Linked DNA regions of Homo sapiens: region 2 is linked to region 1. The links are contacts of gene promoters, found by promoter capture Hi-C in blood cells and fetal thymus (Javierre and others, 2016). All regions are on one chromosome and are shown on one strand. The core of a region is centred on a gene start or on the middle of the fragment in contact, and the rest is flanking DNA. Distances in the headings are between cores, read along the strand shown.

Evidence for each region. Contacts are between HindIII fragments. The CHiCAGO score rates a contact against its expected background, and 5 or more counts as called.
Region 2: a contact is called between a fragment that was not itself captured here and the fragment with the promoter of DLD in region 1, in 1 of 17 cell types (total CD4 T cells). The highest score is 5.1, in total CD4 T cells.

Annotation. Positions count from the first base shown.
Region 1 is chr7:107,889,388-107,896,087 of GRCh38, forward strand. DLD (dihydrolipoamide dehydrogenase) reads left to right here and starts at 1,796. Exons shown (of 14, transcript NM_000108.5): 1 at 1,796-1,902; 2 at 3,813-3,891. The coding sequence starts at 1,864. RefSeq lists enhancers at 1,497-1,576, 1,534-2,216, 1,727-1,966 and a silencer at 2,027-2,136. The HindIII fragment of the contact is 5,175 bases long and covers 1-4,891 here.
Region 2 is chr7:106,764,072-106,771,275 of GRCh38, forward strand. No RefSeq gene overlaps it. Among named protein-coding and RNA genes, the nearest start is that of LINC02577, 7.3 kb to the right of the region's middle. The HindIII fragment of the contact is 844 bases long and covers 1,660-2,503 here.

The DNA.
Region 1 (6,700 bases), core at 546-3,045:
ACACGCCGCCTTTAAGAACTGTAACACTCACTGCGAGGGTCCGCAGCTTCATTCTTGAAGTCAGTGAGACCAAGAACCCACCAATTCTGGACACAATATGAATATGGAAAGTTGCTCATGAGATAGTTTTAAGTGAAAAAAATCAAGTTAGCAAAATAAGTGTGGTCCAATTTCTGGTTATATTCCTTAGCTGGAATATAAACACTGCTAGTGTGGGCTGTCCATTGTTGACATCGCTCCCTCCACCTCCCGTGTGTTCGCATTAATTTATATGCGTTGTGGCTTTTGTTCTAGCTGAGAGGAGAAGAGGTATAGTTGGTACAAGAGATGAGGAGGAATGTGGAGAAATATGGTGAGTGCAGTAAGGAATCTATTTCCTGCCTCACTTCTCATACTGGGTTGAGCCCCTAGGCTTTGTGAATGACAGCTGGAAAGGATGGAAGTGTTTCATTTTTTAAAAATAAAAATATGATATTGTAATTTTGGACAAAGGAGTAGGGAACAAAGCCCAAGAAAGTTCAGGAAAGAATTGTGAGATTTTGTGCATATGGAGCAGTAACTCCTAGACCAGATGTCAAAGACTGCCATGAAGCTGGAGAGGAGACAATTCTCCCCATCTGTGTGGTGGAGGCTGCTCAATGTCCCCCAATTTCGCTTCATCTCATCTTGCTTATTAATACAATTTCAGTTAGGCACTCAGCTGACAGGACTATGTTTCACAGATCCCCTTGCAGCTAGGTGTGGCTTTGTAATCAGATGGAATGAGGGGATATGATTGTAGAAACTGGAGCAGCCATCTTGAATGAAAGATGCAAGGCAAGCTCTGATGATGGCAGAGTCACGAGATAAAAGGAGCCTGGGACCCTGTCACAGGACAGAGCTGCCAGCAATACCGTCTCTATAACAAACACTAAATTTAATTATTCATATCTAAATCTGAACATAGGCAGTAATTTCTAACCAGTGTTTAGCCCAGCACAAGGCCTGGGTGGTAGACTTCCAATAAATGTAGAATTAAGTTTATTCACACTATATAGACTTATTGCAAGGCAAGAATGAGACCTTAGACTTTCGTGCTCAATCTTGAAGACAATGTTTTTCAACCCTTTTCAACAGATTCTCTCTCAAAACCTAAAATCTCATCCACCATCCCACTCTCTTTTTACCAGGGAGATGTGTTTCTCAACTAAAGAAATAGAAGAAAGTGTGTTCTCTACGTATTGTCAGTTAGCTAATTAGAGCAGAATGCTGGTGATGCCAAAATCTGTAGCCCCATCCCTTATATGGCATTTGAGAGGAGCGAGTATAAAGCAGTAGATAATACCAAAGGTTTTGGCCTCAGGGCCGCAGTTATCTCTCCTTTGTGAGACCTTGGGGGCACTGTTTAACCTCTCTGGGTCTCATCCAAGAAATGGAAATACTAATAATACTCCATATGGTTGTTGCAAGGATGAAATGAGATGTCTGTAGGAAGTGCCGAGGAATGCCTAGCACAACCAAGAGCTTGTTGAACTTGTCACGCTTTACTGTCGATAATGTGCATTAAGCAAACGCTAGTTTTATTTGTTTATTTCATCTTCTAAGTATAAGAATACATTGTAGCTCGACATTTTGGCACCAGCCCCTAAAGCATTCCCACCACCACCCCCGCTGCGACAAAGCCCTGCGCTCCTTACGACAGCGTACGACGCCGAGCCTGACAGGAACGCCTCGTGCGGTAGAACCGCGCGGGCCAATCGCGCTGCTCCCGGGTGATGACGTAGGCTGCGCCTGTGCATGCGCAGGGAGGGGAGACCTTGGCGGAGCGGCGGAGGCGCCCAGCGGAGGTGAAAGTATTGGCGGAAAGGAAAATACAGCGGAAAAATGCAGAGCTGGAGTCGTGTGTACTGCTCCTTGGCCAAGGTGAGGGCCGAGTAGGTGAGGTCGTGTTGAGCCAGAGGCACGGAAGGTCCCGCTCAGTGGGTCCGGTACGCGGCTTAACCGTGTTGGGCTGGCGGAGGCGGGCGCCTGGGCCGCACCACCCCTGGCCCCGCCTCTGCACTGGCTCAGCCCGGCCCTGGGCTCCGAGGTGGCCGCTCATCCTGCAGCAGGCGAGGGACGGGGCTGGGCCCAGGCTGTGGCGAGTCCTTTCGGGTTGTGTGACGGCCGGCGGTCACACATGCCACACCCCCAAGCCTGGGCCGAGGGCCATCCCGGTCACACATAGGCCTCTACCTTGGAGGAAGTGTAAGCCACCCATGTCCCGTATAGTCTGGCTTTTTATACCATTTGCCTTTTTCTCATCCTAATTCTGATCCCTGAGTGGCCTAAGTTTATGCAGTGGGCAGGTAACCCTGGGGTCACTTCTTGAATGGTTTAGATCCAGTCAGCTCCAACAGATAGCCCTCGGAATTCCCCTAAGGTCTTGTCAGTGTTGGCAGCTTTCAACTGGTGTTCATTGCCATCTCTCACGACTTCCTGGAGGCTTAAATCTTTAATTGCAGCAGGTTATCAGAACAACTCTCCTTTTTAATCTGCTTACCAGATACAGCCAAATTGTGTGTATGTGGCACCGTGGCTGGGTACTATGTTAGTGGAGACCTTAAAAATAATATAGCGATCAAACCCTTTTGTTTCAGAGATGAGGAACCTGAGTTCTCAAAAGTTAATGTAACATTCTGCAAGTCATGCTTTTAGGGAGCGGCGGAGGTGGGACTGAAACTCAGGATTGTCAATCTGCTGCTTTTTGGGTTTGCTGTCCTGACCTCAAATGTTAAGAGTTGCCTTGGAATAGGAAACATCAGTGTAGGTTTTGTCACTGCCGCCCATTTTCCTGCTGTGAGCAGGGGTTATTTGCTTGCTTGCTTTCTGCCTCATTGCCCTTAGGAAATGGTAGCCGTCCACATATAGAGATTAGGGAGATTATGATGCAATTTGTCAAACTGTAGTAGCACCAGAACGTAAGTACATTACTTGGTGCATTTTCCTAAGTTACCTTGTCTAATTTGCTATTCCTAGTTGATGTCTCAGGAACATCTTCATAGATTGTTCTAAGTAAATACGGACTGTATATACACGCTAGCTTAGAGTTAGGAAACAAAAATTACAGGTAAAAAGATTATCATGTATAGATTATTCAAGTATTTAAGTTAGAACTTTCAGAGCTTTATTTATTTATTTATTTATTTATTTATTTTGAGACGGAGTCTCACTCTGACATCCAGGCTAGAGTGCAATGGCACTATCTCAGCTGACTGCAACTTCCGCCTCCCGGGTTCAAGTGATTCTCCTGCCTTGGCCTCCCGAGTAGCTGGGATTACAGGCACCCACCACTACACCCGGCTAATTTTCTTGTATTTTTAGTAGAGTCGGGGCTTCACTATGTTGGCCAGGCTGGTCTCGAACTCCTGACCTCAGGTGATCCGCCCACCTCAGCCTCCCAAAGTGTTGGCATTACAGGCGTGAGCCACCACGGCCGGCTCAGAGCTTTATGACATTAAAATGATCCCTGGCACTAATAATTAGCCATGTTTTCTGAAAATTGAATAAAAATACCATTGAATACGTTTTTAAAATTAAGTTAAATATGAGATGATTTGTTGACTATTGATAATAAAAAGATGGGTGTGGCAAGCTGAGGCTGAAAAATTTAAATGATTAGTTATTGTCAAAGAGGGGATATTGATCTGTAGCTTCTGTGTGGCAATGGAAGAAGATACACTAATAATCCTCGCTTGATACGTTTGCCCAAAATTGTTCTGTTATCATCAACCTTCAGTAGTTCTATGTTTTGAATTCATATCTTACATAATAGGGACATTTTCTTTTTCTAGAGAGGCCATTTCAATCGAATATCTCATGGCCTACAGGGACTTTCTGCAGTGCCTCTGAGAACTTACGCAGATCAGCCGAGTAAGTACTTAAGTAAAACATTTTTTTCATCACATTAGCTGACAGTTCCTTTCTATTTCAATGTAAAAGCAAGTGAATATTGGAATAACTTATGTTAAGTGTCTTATAGTTCATTTGTTCATGTATTTATTCGTTTGAATGTATATTGAGCTAGTGTGTTCCAGGCGGTGAACAAGGTAAAAAAACCCTGCTCTTATGAAACTTGTAATTTGGTGATAAAAGACAAACAATATATAAGTAATGGATAAATATTTTGGGAAGTAACTGAAAATTAAAGCAGGTAATAGGGAGGAAGAGAGATAATTTTAGATACAGTGTCAGGAAAGGCCTTTCTGAGGAGATGATGTCTGGGCAGGGTCCTGAGTGAAGTGGGGGAGTGAGGTTACTTCAGGCAGAGGGAAACAACACTGAGAAAGGCCTGAGGTGGGACTTAGCTTGTGAAGTTTAAGGAGTAATAAGAAGGCTGGTATGACTGGAGCAGAAACCCATGCAATGTAAAGTCGGAGAGGTAGGCAGGAGACAGATCATGGAGTGCCTTGTAAGGCAGGTCTAGTAGTTTGGATTATACTCCAAGTATGATGGGAAACAAAGGTTTTGAGCAGGGCAGCAATTTCATATGTTTACATTTAAAAAGTTAATTTTGTCCGTTGAGTAAGGTTGTATTGGTTATTTTAACACTGTTTAGAATGATGAGATGACTTTCTTGACATCCTGAATGAAAGTCTTCATGGGTTTATCAAAAGCATGTTTTAAAGATTAGCAGGATCTAAAAGGAAGCTATGGGTCATGGAATTTTCTCCTGTGTACTTTTTTTATATTTTTGAAGTTCCCATAAAGGATATGCATTTTATTTTTTTAAGTATTTAAAACAGAAAGTTAATAGGATTATATTGAAGTATTTTGACCTGTCAGTACCAAGGATATTGATTATTTGCAATGTACTGTTTTGACATTTACTGAATTCACCCATATGGATTATAAGTAACATTGGATGTCTTAAAGCTTCAGTTATAGAAATCATTATCTGGGCAAACTGTGACTATCAGTCTCCCTGCATTCTGTGAAGTAATTTAATCCTGTATCCTCAACTGTTATCCAACCATTATCATTTTGGATATTTTATTTCTAGAGGAAGGGTAGGGGGAGGATTCTAGTAACCCATGACTAACAGTGAGTGAGTGATTTATTCTAGCTTTGAACAGGTCAAGAAATCCTTTTAAAAAAATGCTAATATGATGATGAAGGGAAAAGTTGGACCTCTTATACACTTTGTCTCTTGTTAAATAGGAATCTCATTCTTCTCAACTCATATAACAGGAGAAATGTTAGATTTTCATTTCTAAAGGATATTTTTCATGGCTAACTCTATACCTTTGGCATCACTCAGCAGAGATTATTCAGTGCCTTCTATTTGCCAGGCAGACCCTGAGCCAGAACTTAGATTTTAGTGGAATGAGGCTGAGTGTTCCATAATCAGTTTGGTGATCCCTTGACATTGAGTAAATCATAAATCACTTAGTACCCATGTGTGTAAAGTGTGTAAAAGCTTTGAGTGGATGCAGTAACAAGCATTTTACACACATACTTGTATTTTATCTGAGGTACATGCTTACTGTCTTTTCCTCAGGAATGCAAACTTCATCAGGACAGGGACTGTGTGTGACTGTTTTGTTTAGTATCTAAAGTGATACAGTAGGTAATCAGTACATATTTATTGAATGAATGAACACTGGGGCCTGGTCTGTTTTAATTACTGCTCTGTGGCAAAGCATCCAGTATGGTGTCTTGTACAAAGTAAGTAACCAGCTACAACAGCAATAATATTAACTGATGCATTGAGGGCTTCACTCTGTCTCAGGCACAGATTTAATCCTCATGGCCTTTCTACTACCTGTGTGCTGCTGTTCTCCCCATTTTATAGATGGAAGAGTTAGGTTTTTTAACTAGGAAATGACAGAGCTGGGAGAATCCTTTTGACTTCAGAGCCTACACTGTTAATGTTTTATTGAGTTTTCTTCCTTACATGAGTATTGATTGACTCTCCTGAGGAGTTCAAATCTTATTATGATATAGTCTTGGTTACAACATCTGAGAGATGTCTGAATAGCCTTATGAACCAGGTTCATCAGAATTTGCAAAGTTGTGTGTGTTACTGTTGATGTGACGTTTTATTTCATGACAGCACTTAATCAAACTTGTAACACTTAAACTTACAGCACTTATATCACTCACATTCACTACATTCATTCATTCTTTTATTATTTCGACAAATACTAATATCTACTATGTGTTAGTCATTGGGCTAACTACTGGAGTACCGCAGTGAGCAAGACGGACAAGACCCAGCTTTTATAGAGCTTACAATTCAGTTGAGGGAGACAAACATCCAACATATAATTGTGACAGGGGTCCATAGACTTAAGCATAGGGAGTAATGACATCTATATATGGATTGGGAATGGTCACATAATTCTTTCCTAAGGAATTATGTTGATAGCTAAAAAGGTTGAGAGTAACTCTCGTTACAGGTTGGACCTTTTACTGTAATTCTTTTTTTTATTTAGACTGTAAGAAATAGGGCTATGTCATTTATATATACACACACACAGACACAGCATGTGCAGACACACCCCTCCAAGAGCCTAAAGTAGTGTTTGTAATGTGAAATGCCTGCTGTTAGTGTTTATTTCTAGGTAGATGGAACAGATCGTACATAGGTAGACCAGCATAATTCTATGCATGTAGGCTAAGAGTAGTAATTCACCGTTACTGAAGCTTAAACTGCATGGTATTGGTGAGTAAACAGAAC
Region 2 (7,204 bases), core at 832-3,331, 1.1 Mb before region 1:
CAGGCCTCATCATCTCACTGAAGCTCTGATGGACACACAGTCTTTGGTTGCCCTCAGCCCTGCCAAGGCACAAAATAGCAAACAGGATTTAGGGCCAGGTATTATCTCCTAAGAAGATAGAGAAGATGGCTACCTACAGTCATGATGTTAGAGACAAAAGAAAAGCCCCTATAAATGCCAAGACTGGCCACTCTCCATGTTAATCTGCTTCCAGTCATTAGTCATGACATCCCCAAATAGCAGGGGTTTAAAAACACTTTAATAATAAATGCTGGCCTATGGTCAAAGGGATCAAAGTTCCTTACTTTATTTTTCTGGAAAACAAGAACATATTTTCTTCTGTGATCATAAACCAATCATCGTGGGAAGTATGATTCCTCAATAGTAAATGGTCAACTTGTCAAGAACTATAAAGAGTCTGAGATTATATTCTACTTGGCAAATTAACATATTAGCCTATTACTGTTGCATGAATGCTGACAGAAGGCACCAGACTTCTGGCTCAGAGACAAAGGACTTTATCACCCAGAGCACAGAAAGGAGCAGGAGCTACACGTTCATATTAGTTCCCCTTCCCCCGACACACCCACCAAATTCCACAAAGCAACTGCATGGATGCTCCACACACATGGACTTACATCACAGCTAAAGAAAACCCAAGTTTAAGGAACCTCAATCATTTATAATGGGCTGCAAGAAAACCTTCCCAAACTTTGCTCCCAAACAGACATTATCTTTATCATATTGGACAGTAAATAATCTGTCCTCTGCTCCATAGGAAGATGCCATCTTCCAAGGCAGTTCGTAATGCAAAGGTTCTTAAAAAGATAATCAATACAAAAGCAGTTTGTGCCTCTGTTCACAAAATGTGCAGAAATGTAAGGGACCCTTGAAGAATTGTCTCCCAACACAACTCCATCAAGCTGCTATGGTTTGTATGTTGTCCCCTTCAAAACTCATATTGAAAATTCATTGCCATTGCAACACTATTAAGATGTGAGGCCTTTAAGAAGTGATTAGGCCATGAGGGTTCCATCCTCATGAATAGATTAACACCATTATCACAAGAGTAGGTTACAGTTATTGCAAGAGTTCAGCCCCCTTTGCACACTCACTTGCTCTTCCGCCTTCCACCAGGGGATGATGCAGCATGAAGACCCTCACTAGATGCCAGTGCCATGCTCTTGACTTCTCAATCTCCAGAACTATGAGCCAAATAAATTTATTTTCTTTATAAATTACCCAGCAGAAAACAGACTAAGACACAAGCCCTCAGCAAGACCAAAATCTATATTCTCACCATTGGTATCACTATCTCACATTGAATGGTATAAAGAAAGGCAATGTGGGCCGGGTGTGGTAGCTCACACCTTTAATCCCAGCATTTTGGGAGGCTGAGGTGGGAGGATTACTTGAGCACCGGAGTTCAAGATCAGCTTGAGTAACATAGGGAGACCTTATCCCTACCAAAAAAAATGAAAAAAAAAAATTGCTGGTCATGGTAGTGTGCCTATGGTCCTAGTTACTCAGGAGGCTGAGGTGGGAGGATCACTTGAGCCTGAGAGATCAAGTCTGCACTGAGCTATGATTGCACCACTGCACTCCAGTCTGGGTGACAGAGGAAGACCCTATCTTTAAAAAAAAAAAAAAAAAAAGTAAAGCTTCTGCATAATTGTTCCTCTTTGCAGTAGGTGTTATTGGGGTCCTACTCAGGTCCTGTTTATCTGGTAAATGCCTGCATTCCCCAGCTGTGTGAATGTTGGCTGTTGGCAACTCACAGCTGTACCCCTAACCTAAGAATAGCCTTCAGCAGAGCTGTCTTGCCTAGAAATGCCTGTAAGGCGTATGCCTCCCTACCCAACACACACACCCTCCATAGGCAGCACACAGGCAATGACTGACTGATGAAGAAGCACAAAAGACCCAAGGAAGGACAATTCTGTGATACCATTCATGCCCCAGAACTCCCGCAGGATCAGGTTGGGGTCAGACTTTAGCGTACACGCATCTTTGCCCAGCTTCCTCCCCTCCCGTCCCCTGCTCAGCTTACTCCTCTACTGGCTTCTCCTGAACCCACTCCCTTAATGAGTCACTCCATTTCAGGCTCTCCTACTAGAGAACCTGACCTAAGGCACTTGCCTTGAACATTTCCAGAAATAGAGCTGTCTGCCTCACAAGGCATGCCATTCTGTTTTTGGACAGCTCTGATCATTAGAAAAGTTTTATTATTTTATTAGGATCACACTGCCTCTGTAATCTCCACACATGAGTCTATGTAGAGTAAGTCTAATCCCTTTTCCACATGACGGCCTCTCAGATATTGGGGCAGGGGGGATTCCTTCTTAAATCTACTTTATTTTTAGGCTATGAGAAAAAAGGGGGAGCTTTTTTAAAAAGTTTTTTAAAAACTATACAATAATATTCTAACTCAGAGTAATGTCTGCCTGACAACAAAATTGCATGAAGCAAATAATGAAAAGTCAGCCAGAAGAAAATCTGAAGAAGCTTATTTCAAATCCACTGGGTGCCAGGGGCAGAGAGAGGGGGTGGGGCAAAAAGACGTACCCAGCACAAGAGTGAAGAAGAGATCAAATCTCAGGAAAAGATAAATCAGACATAAACTACTCAAAACCAGACACAATGAAAGACTGCAAGGATCCCACAGAAGAGAAACCTTATAATTCTCCAGAGATGATGTCATAGAAGTAGACCTAAAAAAACTCTAGGACTCAAATGTGTATATGTCACATGCACACCGTATCCATACTTTGAAGATTTTTAGATAAGGATTGGTAAACACTGTCTCAGGATCATTGAGACTTACTGATGAGATGCATACCTGGAATACAACATTAAAAGAGCATGCATACCTTGTTCAAAAGGAAAACGTTTCCTCGAAAGGATAGGATAGGAAAATTGTATGTCAAGAATATATATATTCCAATGGAAATTTAAAATCTGAGAGTAGAAGTATTTAAAAGGGGATAAACCCGGAAAGAGATGGAAGTAGTATCTTTGAAGGACTGTAATACAGATACCCAGCACATGAAGGAAATTGGGTAAAACAATCCTAGATAGCTCTCATGAGCAGGGCAAAGTCAGAGATAACCAGGTCCATGCATGTTTGTGTCTCCACAATGTCAGATTTTTACTGATGCTATTTTAACCACAAAAGCCACAAGCTACATGGAGTTCTCAAGAAGGCAACTCTCTCCTTAGTACTTCTCGTTCACTCCGTAGTCAGAGCACACAGCTCAAGCCACTCCACAAGTCAGTCAACATTGCAAACCATATATAGTAGTATATTTCATCAACATATAAATGTTAAGATTAAACATTCCACACCAAAGTAATATTTAACATCAAGAGAAAGGGAATAGGAAAAAGGATTAATGAAGTAGTCCGAGGAAAGTGACGATGAAGACAGAAAGAATCTCCTGGTCTGTGCTCGGCGGTCCAGGAAAGGTCTTGAAAGGAAAAGTCTTTGATGTGGGCAGAGCCTTCAGCAGCAGATGCCAGGTGTTGATCACTAGTGACAGTAAGAGCATGTCAGTTAAGATGGCCGCTTTGAGCTGCTGAAGCCCTGCTCTTTTTACGACCACCAGAGGACTGATAGTGGAAGTGTGTGCTTGTTTATGCCCTTATCTGGTTGGATGCAGTCTTTATTTATTACAAATTTATTAAGCAAACATCGTATCCCTGTTGGCAAAATGTCCCGTGAAATGTAAGATGGAGTCTTTTTTTTAAGATGGAGTTACTTATGTCAAGGGTGCTCAATACAATAGCCTTTGTTGGGGCTTTATAACTTAAAATGTGCTTTCTCACATTTTCTTCAATCTCAGAGAAGACTTATCAGATGAATAATACATTATCATTATTTTATGGAAGTTATAAGTGATTAATTGACCATGCCCTGTTAAATTAAGTTTAGCCTAAAGCTGCCTCCTTACATATTTTTAAGTTGAGGCTAAAGGTTTCTCTGCACATAGTGAACTGTAACCTAACTGGATGTATCAACAGACTGTAACTTGCTCTTGTACCCATCACTGAGCTTCAGCCAATTGCAGATGGCCAACTGTTTAAACCACGTTCAAATAAGACAAACATCAAGCTGTAACAATCCAGCTGTTCCTATTCCTCACTTCTGTTTCACTTTCATTTTTCTGTTCATAAATCCTTTTCACGTGAGTCTGTCTGAATCTATTCTGGTTTGGGGATTGCCCAGTTCATGAAACATTCTTTGCTCAATTAAACTCTGTTAAATTTAGTTTGTCCAAAATTTTTCTTTTAGCAGCTGCAGATCGCCCAACTCATCGGTGGTAGGTCTAAGACTCGAGCATGGGTCTTTAAGCCTAAAGTCTATATTCTTGCCACATAGCCATGCTATCTTCTGATACATGTAGCAAAACTGCTACAGAATTGGCCACCTGGAACCAGTTAGTGGTATCCTGCTATTAACCACATGTATTGGTTACCTGATGCTGCCATAACAAATCACCACAAACTAGGTGGCTTAAAACAACAAAAAATTATTATCTCAGTGTTGGCAGCTAGTAGTCTGCAACTAAGGTGCTGGCAGGTTGATGTTTTCCTCTGACGCCTCTAGGGAACCTTCCTTGCCTCTTCCTAGCCTCTAGCAGTTGCTTGCCACCCTTGGTGCTCCCTGGCTTCTAGATGCATCACTGCAGTCTCCACCTACGATCTTCTCCCTGTCTGTGTCCCTGTGTCCCAATGCTCCTCTTTTTATAAGGATCCAGTTATATTGAATTTAGGGCCCATTCTAATCCAGTATGACCTCGTCTTAACTTGATTACATCTGCAAAGACTGTATTTTCAAATAAGGTCATATTCACAGGCTCCAGGTGAACATAAGCTGGGGAAAGGCACACATTCAACCCAGCGCACAGCAGACGGAGAGTTTGTTCTTGGTTTGGGTTACTGACAATTTTCCCTCAGCAGGTAAAGGAATACATTTAGGAAATTTTTGTCCTGGATTCCAACAAGAAAGAAGGAGGTGTCAAATGCAGAAACAAGCAAACCTTGGAATAAAATGGCCTTGATGTTTATAATAGTGAAAAAGGTAATGGTCAGACCTTCAGAAAGGGGGCTTCATAAAAAGTAAGGAAAATAATAGTGCCCAAGGGAATATGTTTAGAAGAGGAATGTAGACTCTGAAAACAGGATTACTTGAGCATTACAAAAATGATCCTGTTTAGGAGGAAAGATATGCTGTCTGGAAAGAAAATATAATAGAAATAATCTCAGATAATTGACCATAAACAAGCTTGTGCTGAAAACATAAACAGCAAGAATAGAATAATAGTCTAGGAGCACACAGTTCTCAGAGAGGAGGTAAAAGGAGGGTTAGATCTGGAGTAGTAAGACTCGAGGTTCCTATGGCTCAGAGGACGGATGGGGTGGACAGACCCAAGCATGCGATAAAAGAAAGGGAAAATTTGTTTAGAGTATTATGAGAATAAAGTCTTAAAATAAAGTAGGGGCGGAGATAAATACTAAAGACAGCAAGAAAGCTGTTTTTCTTTTTAATCTCCGTAGCCAAGAAAAGATCTGGGAAGAAAAACCTATGCTGTATCTCAGACAATATCACCTTAGGCCAAGCATGGTGGCTGACACCTGTAATCCTAATGCTTTGGGAGGCCAAGGCAGGAGGATCACTTGAGCCCAGGAGGACCTCTTGCCCACCAGCCTGGGCAACAAAGTGAGACTCCATCTCTACAAAACTTTGTAAAAAATTAGCCAGGTGTGGTAGCACACGCCTGTGTTCCCAGCTACTCGGGGCTGAGGTGGGAGGATCACTTGAGCCCAGAAAGTAAACCCTCACTAGCCATGTTCACTCCACTGCACTCCAGCCTGGGCCACAGAGCAAGACCTTGTCTCAAAAAAAAAAAAAAAAATTACAATATAACCTTAACAAATGATAACATAATCAAAGAACCATTCAATTTTCTGCTTCCTTCCATATTCTAAGAGAGATGAACATCAATTTTGAAGCAAACATTATGAAGAGAGAATTAAAACCTACAATAGAAAAAGAGATAGTAAGAGAAATCTTCACTTACTCTGAATGACTTCAAAACTTCTGTTAATACAAATTCTATCCCAAAGTATCAAAAGAGTTTGCAGATGAGATCAGAGAACTGCTCCTGAGAATCAAGGAGAATGGAAAAGGTGACTAATGGCTGGAAAATGTTTCTACTTCTAAAAATAGTGAAAGAATGAGATCTGTATGTAAACTGATGAGCCTCATGCAGACGCCAAACAAAATTCTAAAATGGATGATTTGTAGGCAAGATACAGTAAACAAATACTAACCAGTGTGAATTCACTAAGAACAAGTCATGCCAACCAGTCTCACTTCTTTTCTTAGATTTGGTTGCCTGTGTGTCAGGAGGAAGGCATGCACATGGTATGCCTTGGTTTTAGCATAGCATTTGCCAAATATCGTGATGCACACCTTTTGTTGTTAAGATGGAGGAATGAGGGCCCAGGTAACAGCAAGATGACTGGTGGTTTGCTGCATAGTTAGGCATTCAATGTCACCCAAAGAATATTGGCCAAAGACTTGACTTCCACCTTAAAAGGCAAACTCCAAGAATTTATGATTTGCTCATTTCTGTTCAATATTTTTGTCAAAAACATGAAAACCACAGAATGCATGTTTATGAATATTTCAATTTAAAAATTAGGGAGACAGAGCTAATACACGAGGAGACAATTCAAAACTATTTCTTCATATAGAAATCAGGCCCAAAACAAAGAAAATACAAATTATTTGGGATAAACATAAGGCCAAAAAAAAAGAGAGAGACAGAGAGACTAATAATACCAATAGCTTACATTTATTGAACAGTTACTATGCATTATATAGTCACATGCCATATATACATATGTTTTGAGACTGGATCTTGCTCTGTTGCCCAGGCTGGAGTGCAATGGCACAATCTTAGCTCACTGCAACCTCCCCGTCCCAGGCTCAAGCAGTCCTCCCACCTCAGCCTCCCGATAGCTAAGACTACAGGCACGTCACCATGTTTGGCTAATTTATATATATTTCATAAAGATGGGGCTTCATCATGTTGCCCAGGCATTATATTTTTTAACCTCATAACCACCACATTATCATTAGAATTATTGCTTTTAAAATTTATCAGCGAGGAAGCTAAGCCTGAGGGGCTAAGTAATT